Linked DNA regions of Homo sapiens: all the other regions are linked to region 2. The links are contacts of gene promoters, found by promoter capture Hi-C in blood cells and fetal thymus (Javierre and others, 2016). All regions are on one chromosome and are shown on one strand. Each heading gives the region's core, a stretch centred on a gene start or on the middle of the fragment in contact. The rest is flanking DNA. Distances are from core to core; before and after follow the strand shown.

Region 1 (2,724 bases), core at 34-2,533, 530 kb after region 2:
CTTTATTACTATTTCTTGACTTAATGACATGAGGCATTTTCTGCTGACTTCCTGCCGCCCCCCTCAGCTCTCCTTCCCCCTGAATATAGTCATATCACTAATTTTTAACTCTTCTGTTGGCTACCTGGTTCAATGAATAGCAAAGTGGAATGCTCTGATTGGATTTTCTCATCACCGACTCCAGAGTCTTGATCCATGTGCCAATATTCAAACAGATTCCCTTTCTCACACTTTCGGCAACTGTTCAAAACCATGCCACATCTGAGGTTGCTTCATATGTGAAACATAAGTTTCTTGCACAGTTTTTAATGTTCTTCCCTGTAGTTTCTTTCTGTCATTTTTTTTCCTTTGGGTTGAAGAAATGTATGCCTTCCAGAACATGTTATTAATGTCCTCCAGCTTATTATTCAATCCATCTATTGCTTAGAATTCATCTCATTCAATTGGGTCTATTCACTTCGTTTCTAATTGGGGAGATTTGCCTGCTGTCTGAGCCATTCTTGTTCAGTTTATCTTTCCTTAAGTTTTTAGTTACCTTTCCCCGTTTTTTTTTTTTATTGCATTCTGTGCCCATTGTCATTTCCTAAAGTTCGTGCTGTTTTCTGTTTTACGGATGCAAAAACTTCTCAGATATTTTTAAGGATTTTCAAATTTTTAAGCTGTATTCTGTTCCTTCAAATATTTCCTTGAGAGTCAATTTTTCATTCTATCTTAGACGATTTGGGTTATATTTCAGGCTTTCCACAAATGCTGTTTTTTTCTTTTTTTGCCACCCATTTATACTAAAAGATGAGGCAATGGAAAGAATGAGTGGCAAGTCTGCATGCAGGAGCGGAGTTGGTCGCTTTGCTCTAGGGTGGGTGAGCAGGTGGGTGGAAGTCAGCCATCCTGACGAGGAGCCCCCAAATGCCACAAAGTTAGTGGCTCTAAATATATACCTGCAGGTGGACGTTGAGAATCACCGAGGCCAGAATATAGAAGTAAAAGAAGTTCTTGCGCAGCCGCCAGGCCAGGTCGAAGAAGGTGAGCAGCGTGCGCGTGAGCGTCTTGCAGAAGGCGCCGTAAGAGCCGCGGGTCCCCTGCGGGCGCGACAGCCGCACCGCCAGGCCAGACAGGGCCGCCGCCGCCATGGACCTGATGCTGCCTCCCACATAGTGCCCAGAGCCCAAGGCCTCCATCAGGCTCCGCTGACTCACCGACCGTGGGACAGAGGGATGGACGCGGGAAAGTACGGGCGGGAGGCCTCCTGGGCTGCTGCTGATCCGAGCTGCGCTGCAAGGCGGAAGCCCTCCTTTCCCGGCAGGGCTCTGGCCCCAGCGGTCACTGGCGCCCTGCCAGGTTCCGCCCCGCCCCACGGGGTCCGCGTGGCCTAGAGTCAGTTTAGCCTAACTGTCCTGGCCCAGGCCCCAGAACCCCAGGAAGGGCAGGGCACGTGCTGACGTGGGAGACCTAGCTTCCTAACCCGGGCTGTCTTTTCTTTAAAATTATGTTTAATTTTTAAGTTTTTTTCAGTTTTTTAAGTTTTAACAAAAGGAACACAAAACTTGCTCAAAACGATATAAAATGTCCTTCATAAGCATGATCTTGAGCAACTCAGAAGCACAAACCCATTTCCTGTTGTCTCATCCCTTTAGGAACGTTTTTCAATCCTCAACTCTTGAGCTAGTACAAATATACAAAACCCGCAACTTTTCTGGACATTAAAATGTGTGCATTCTGCTTGAATAATTCAAGCAATACTTCTGTTTTTGTGTTAGATCTTTCGTATTCTTCTGATTGGAAAAGTCATTCAATCAAGTTTTTAGAAATTTTCAAAGCAGAAATATGTAAAACAATAGAAAGCAAATTCCCTGCATAGCTTCACTTTCCCCTCCTACCCTTGCCATGAACTACTATTACGTTTGCTGTATCTACTTCCCGACTTTATGTATTGATATATTGCTCTTACCTTTTCAAGAATGTACATCTACTTCACTCTCTTTGATGACTGAATAGTGATCTATGTACATGTTGACTAATAGTGGTCAATAATTTATTTAACCAGATCCCTATTGATGGACATTCTGAATGTTTCTAGTTTTTCATATGTCAAAAATTGTTTCAGTGAACATCACTGTACATATGAATTTACAAGTGGCAGAACAGTAGGAATAATATGACCCCATCTTTGTTTATGAAAACAATTACATATACATATACATTTAGTGTTCAAAGCCAAAACGTTTTACTAATACATGCGATTGATCAAAAAAGTTTAGAGATCAGGGCTCTATGTTACCTTGAGTGTTAACAATCTTAATTTTTTTATTACCAATATGATAGGCAGTACATTTCATTATTCTTCTAATTTGCATTCATTTAATTGTCAGTGCAGTTGAGCAACTTTTCTAAATTTCTGAAGTTTTCAATATTGTTTTTCTGATGGCTTGTAAAACATTAAACATCATATTTATTATGAGAAAAGTAAAATTCCTAGGCTCATAACCCCCTAGAGAGAAAGACTACTAATTTGTATATGTTTTTATCAATTGTTTGCGTATATTTATAAGCACAAACATGTATACGCACATAGATATATTTACAAATCGTAAAACAAAAATGGAATCAGATAAACATATGCAGTCCGGGCGCTCACGCCTGTAATCCTAGCACTTTGGGAGGTTGAGGCAGGCGGATCACCTGAGGTCAGGAGTTCAAGGCCAGCCTGGCCAGCATGGTGAAACC
Region 2 (2,700 bases), core at 155-2,654:
GGGTGGGGAGACTGGCGTCGCGGACAGATTTCCGATTGCGCGGGGGTGGTGAGAGGCCAACGAGTGCAAAGGCGGTTGTCTAGTCTTTGAAGGCCGGCGGCTGGCTCTGCCACGCTCTCAGCAGGAAGGGGAGGGGACCAGGAGGAAGAGGGGGAGAAGGAGGAGATGCAGCGAAGAGCCCAAGGAGGGGGAGGAAGACCGGGGGAGGAAGGAGGGGCCAGAGGAGGAGCCCAGGCTCCGGGAAAGCCCGCGCGCCCGGCCGGCAGGACCTCGGGGCGGAGTCGCAGGCTCCGTCCGGCCCCCCGCGCGGCGACCCTCGCGCGGTGCGCCTCGAAGGGGCGGGCCCGCCTCGCAGCCTCCCTCCGGGTTTCGGGCCCTCCTTCCCCGCTCCTCCCTCCCCTCCCTCCTTTCCATCTCAGCAGCGCCCTCAGTCTCCCTCTCGCAGGCTCATACAAAAGCAAAATGTCCGCCATGTTCCGAGGCGGCTGCGGTTGTCGCGCCACGAGCTCGGCCCTCCTGCGGTTTCTCCCCGGGGCTGCTCCTCCCCGGTCCCCTCTCCCCGACCCCAGGCGCGACAGCTACTCCGAAGCCGCCGACGGCACCACTCCGCCCGCCCTCTGCGCACCCCCTCGCCGCCCGCCCCGCCGGGCGACGCAGGACCGCCTTAGGCGGGGGCAGGGGGGTAAGCAGCCCCCGCCGACTTGCTCCCGCTTCCCGCCTGTCCCCCCACCCGTAGCCCCTTTACCTTGATGCAGTACGGGGGTTCGTCGTAGGTGACCAGCATGTACCTGTCTCCACGGCTGGCCGGGTCCCGGGCGCGCAGCTGCGGGGCAAGGGATGACGGAGGGGGTCGCGTAGGAAAGGAGGGGGGAGGGCGATACAAACGTTACAGAAGCACCTCAATCCACACCCTGAAATCCCTCGGGAGCTCTCCCCATCTCTCCCCTCCCCTCCCTTTACCTTCAAGAATAACTCCACAGCGCCTTTGGCAATGTCCAAATAAGAGGTGCCCAGGTCAGTGCGCTGGTTCATAGAGGCGGACGTGTCTATGAGGAACAGCAGGATGGGCATCTTCCCCCGCACTCCTGCCTCCGCTCCCCACTCTCCCGGCCCTCTTGCCCTCACTGCCGCGTACGGCCACCTGAACCCTCAACTCTCGCAGAGCCGGGGAGCAAGGAGCAAGAGGAAGAGGGGGAGACGGGACGGGACGGGACGGATGGGACCGCTCCTGGCCTCCTCTTTCTGCAGCCCCACCTCCTCTCCCTCCAAGGGAACTTGAAAGTGTGAGCGTGTGTAGCCCTCGGGGCCCTCCCCCTTCCTCTCTTCTGCTGCCACCACTACTGCCGCTGCCAGGACTACTGCCTAAGCATCCGTCCGCGCTCACTAGAGCGCTCGCCCCAGACTGAGCGCCGTCTCTGTTCACTGACAACTTCTGTCTGCTCACCTACCATCGGCACCATGTGACCAGAACCCATGCCATTGGCTGCCAATTATGTGGTATTTGCATATTCATTAGATGACAGGACTAGGGGAGGGACTTGGGCGAACCCTGGGAGTTGAAGTTTGAACCCAGGCAGAGGGTAAGGGGAAGTGTTACGGACCCTCGCTAGGATTCTCCTTTAAAGGACTTGGAAGCAGTTCGAATGATTAGTTCGGGTGGTTTAAATGGATTTTTCTGTCTCTCTTCAAAGATGGTGATTCGAAAAGAAGAGTGAATTTGAGCAACAGTTGTACAGAAGTACAGAAGCAGATGCTTGGACAGTTTGCACAGAAAATTCTTCGCTAACTGCAATCGATCAATCCTGCCAGTGGCGAAGACGAAAATATTTCAGAAGCAGCAAACTTCTTTCCTGGCAGGACGTACTCACATTCCTTTAGATCCCTCCCCCGTCTTGATCAGTATTTGTGAGTTGGTTGCTGGCCTTGCATTCCACATATATCTACTTAGAAAGGAAACTAAAGCTTAAACACAGTTACAGTTACCTAAACTGGCCTTTTGTATGCACAAGCTTCTTCAGTTTCACTAAGCTCTTTGAAACATTGGCCTGCCTGTGATAATTCCACCACTGTTCCCTCTGCGCAGCCTTTACACATGGAGGTTTGCAAACCTAGATTGTGATTCAACTCACATATTTATTTATTTATTTATTTTTATAAATAAATAAAGAGGATCTCGCTTGATCGCCCAGGCTGGAGTGCAGTGGCCCCATCATAGCTGCCTGCAGCGTCCAGCTCCTGGGCTTAAGCGATCCTCCCATCTCAGCCTCTCAAGTAGCTGGGACCACAGGGGCAGGCTCTCAACTCACATTTATTGAGTGCCTATGAAGAGCCAGGCACCCACGGTAGCCTTGTTTAATCTTTGAATTAATTATGGCAGATGGCATTGTATTCAATTTTCAGTAGAGGAAAATGCAGCTCCCTGAGGTTAGGGTAACAATTACGGATACTCTCAGGTCTGGCTCTGTGAAGAGACTCAGTAAGTGGCCAACCACACTTGATTGACTACTTCATATGACACAATTTTAAAAATTGGACTTGTGTATTCCTGGCAATTACTATTGACAATGTGGAATCCAGGACTTCAATGAGTTTGCAGTTTCATTGAGGAGAGATGATGACATATACATACATAATATTTTATATATTTTGGCCAGGCGCAGTGGCTCATGCCTGTAATTCCAGCACTTTGGGAGGCCGAGG
Region 3 (2,700 bases), core at 8-2,507, 720 kb after region 2:
ACATACACAAATTGGAATATCAAAAGGAACAAGTAATACAAAAACAGCAAGAATTCTATATGCTACAATGGCAAACACAACATTAAAGAAATTGTTTTTACTTCTCCCCATTTCTACGCACACATTATTATACCAACCTAGCTGTGTTTCTTGATCAGTCCTTCCAGTTCCAGGGAAATATGCCATGATCTTGGGACACTGCTTTTGTTAGATCTAGACTTGACAATTAGGCTACTCCTCTCTTTGCATATCCCAGTCTGCTGCGTCTGTCCCAGGCCCTCACCTATAAAAGGGAACCAACAAACATGTGATAATCAGCTCTTTATTTTACCAGTTGTCATGACAACCTTGAAGCTACGTTGTAACCTTTAGTTACCACAAGAGCAAGTCAAATACAAGTCAAACCCAAATCTACAAACCACAAACACCCCAAACCTTCCCAAAAGATTTACATGAAAGGTTAAAAAAAAAAAAAAAACTAGCAGGCAAGAATGATGTTAATAAAACCTAGAAATGATGGCCAAAGTAGCATTATTCTCCTCGCGTTCTCCTAAATTGTTAAGCTCCTGAGGTCAGTGCATGCATGTGGTCAACAAATGATTGTTTAGTAGCTATTGTGAACAAAAGAATGTATTATAATTTCTTTTGAGCAGGGAGTAGGAGGTGGGGCTGGCCTTAAGGGTTGCTGAGACCTTGAGATAAAAAGAGATACCTAAGTTGCTCAAAAACAGAGGTTGTTGTTTCTAATCTAGCTGGGAGAAAAATACAGGCAATTTAAAGGAAACTATCTAAAAGTACTTACAAATCCCTCATACTGCAGGCAGAAAGCATAAACAGTGAGGAATAAAATGATAATTGGCCTTGGCAAGTTTAGTATGGGATAATTGAAAAGAGGCAGGCAAAATTATTATTTCTGGCTGAATTTTGAAAGCAATTTCAGAACTATTACATTTCAATGCAATGGCCTTCTCTTCCCCAGGGCCATTCAAGTGGTGAGGATTAAAAGAGTTTGTGGAGTCCTGATAAGATAAGTAAGAAACAATGAGAAAGGGGCCCCAGGTGGGGAAGAACAATGAAAAATTGTTCTGAGAGACCTAGGGCACAAAGACCTCCTTCCACATGTGGCCCCAGCAGCATGACTTGTTTCCACATGCAGCCCCCTCCAGCTCCCTCCAGCCCCTGCCTCTTTGCAGACAGCTCCTCCTCTGCAGTGCTGCCCTTTGCCTCCTTGCAACATACTTCCATACCTTCTCTAGTAAATCTGCCTTTCTTTACCTACAACTGTCTTGGTCAATTCCTTTACCACCTGCGCCACTGGCCAGCTGCACCTGCAACATTTTGGTAGTTCGTATGGGCCTCTCCCCTACTTTCTCCCTTTCCTCCAATTCCAACCTCTCGTTGGACAGTGTCAAAACCCTGAGATAATTTTAAGTCCCTGGCCGGGGCTGCTCCCCAGGGAACCAGAAGGTCCTGGTGGAAAGACACCAGACTGCTGTCCCACGATTCTGTGAGACTTCAGAATTTGCTTTACTTTTCAGTCTTCCAGAGGACAAATTCTAGTATCCCTCTGGCAATTGATGGCAACTGGTCAGGGCCATTTCCTGGTGTGGCCTCAAGGCCAGCGGGTGTGAACAGGTTTGGCTGCCTTGCCTAGAAGGGAAGAAGGCCCTCTCCTATCTCTTCTGGCGAAAAGGTCTGCAATCCCTATGTAGTGCAATTGGCACATATGTTTTGGGGAGCTCAGAGCCCCTCTTTCTTACTCTAAATAGTCCTGCAAAAACAGCCAGACCTCCTGCTCTGGACGTTCCCAAATTAGGTGATAGCAAGCAGCCTCAGAGCAGTGAGTCTCCCCATTCTGGTCCTCTCTCCTGGGATGGGACCAGGCTGAGTTCTTCCTTTACCCTTTTTCCTTGTACCGGGGCTAACCATCCAGCGTAAGGCCCCAGCGCTGAGATGTCCTTTCTAATAGGTGGGATGCCCCTTTAGAGAGTGCACTTGAGGCCGGGCACGGTGGCTCATGCCTGTAATCCCAGCACTTTGGGAGGCCGAGGTGGGTGGATCACCTGAGGTCAGGAGTTCAAGACCAGCCTGGCCAACATGGCGAAACCCCATCTCTACTAAAAATACAAAAAATTAGCTGGACGTAGTGGTGCATGCCTGTAATCCCAGCTACCTGGGAGGCTGACACAGGAGAATCGCTTGAACCTGGGAGGCGGAGGTTGCAGTGAGCCGAGATCCCACCACTGCACTCCAGCCTGGGCGACAAAGCGAGATTCCATCTCAAAAGAAAAGAAAAGAAAGTGCACTGGAATCCCTCAGCAGATGTGAGTTGAGCCCTCTTCCTGGTGGGGCAGGGGGGTGGGGGCGGCGAGAGAGTGTGGTTCGTGTCTGCAGCAGACGTTAGTCCCCGGCAGCTCATCGTTTTCCAGTCCCACCATGGGACAAACCTCCTCTATTCCGTCAGACTCACCTATGAGTTGCATCCCAAAACGCTGAGACAAATGTAACCCTCAGATTAAAAAAAAAAAAAAAGTCGAATTTTCTTTTGTAATACAGCATGGCCCCTATGCAGAAAACCTCAAATCAGTCTCCTCAGTCTTTTATAACCAAGAGCAGGATAAGGACAGGGCTAAGGAGAAAGAAAAATGCAGGGACAAGAAGCAGGCTCAACTGTTGGCTGCTTTGCAAGCCCCCAGCCTC

The links. The method cuts DNA at HindIII sites, captures the fragments that hold promoters and counts their contacts. A CHiCAGO score of 5 or more calls a contact.
Region 1: the fragment with the promoter of SMIM10 here is called in contact with the fragment with the promoter of INTS6L in region 2 in 2 of 17 cell types (naive CD8 T cells and naive CD4 T cells); the score reaches 6.3 in naive CD8 T cells.
Region 3: a contact is called between a fragment that was not itself captured here and the fragment with the promoter of INTS6L in region 2, in 6 of 17 cell types (neutrophils, naive CD8 T cells, total B cells and 3 more). The highest score is 8.9, in neutrophils.

Annotation. Positions count from the first base shown.
Region 1 is chrX:134,989,550-134,992,273 of GRCh38, reverse strand. SMIM10 (small integral membrane protein 10) reads right to left here and starts at 1,283. Exons shown (of 1, transcript NM_001163438.2): 1 at 1-1,283. The coding sequence starts at 1,178. The coding sequence ends at 927. The HindIII fragment of the contact is 12,586 bases long and covers 1-2,724 here.
Region 2 is chrX:135,519,364-135,522,063 of GRCh38, reverse strand. It overlaps INTS6L (integrator complex subunit 6 like), which reads right to left and starts at 1,404. Exons shown (of 18, transcript NM_001351601.3): 1 at 961-1,404; 2 at 746-823. The coding sequence starts at 1,071. It overlaps INTS6L-AS1 (INTS6L antisense RNA 1), which reads left to right and starts at 1,390. Exons shown (of 2, transcript NR_046740.1): 1 at 1,390-1,497; 2 at 1,692-1,981. RefSeq lists silencers at 301-500, 561-830 and enhancers at 1,081-1,140, 1,171-1,250. The HindIII fragment of the contact is 2,771 bases long and covers 1-1,964 here.
Region 3 is chrX:134,801,684-134,804,383 of GRCh38, reverse strand. It overlaps a transcript of PABIR3 not described here. Among named protein-coding and RNA genes, the nearest start is that of PABIR3, 4.2 kb to the left of the region's middle. The HindIII fragment of the contact is 7,504 bases long and covers 1-2,700 here.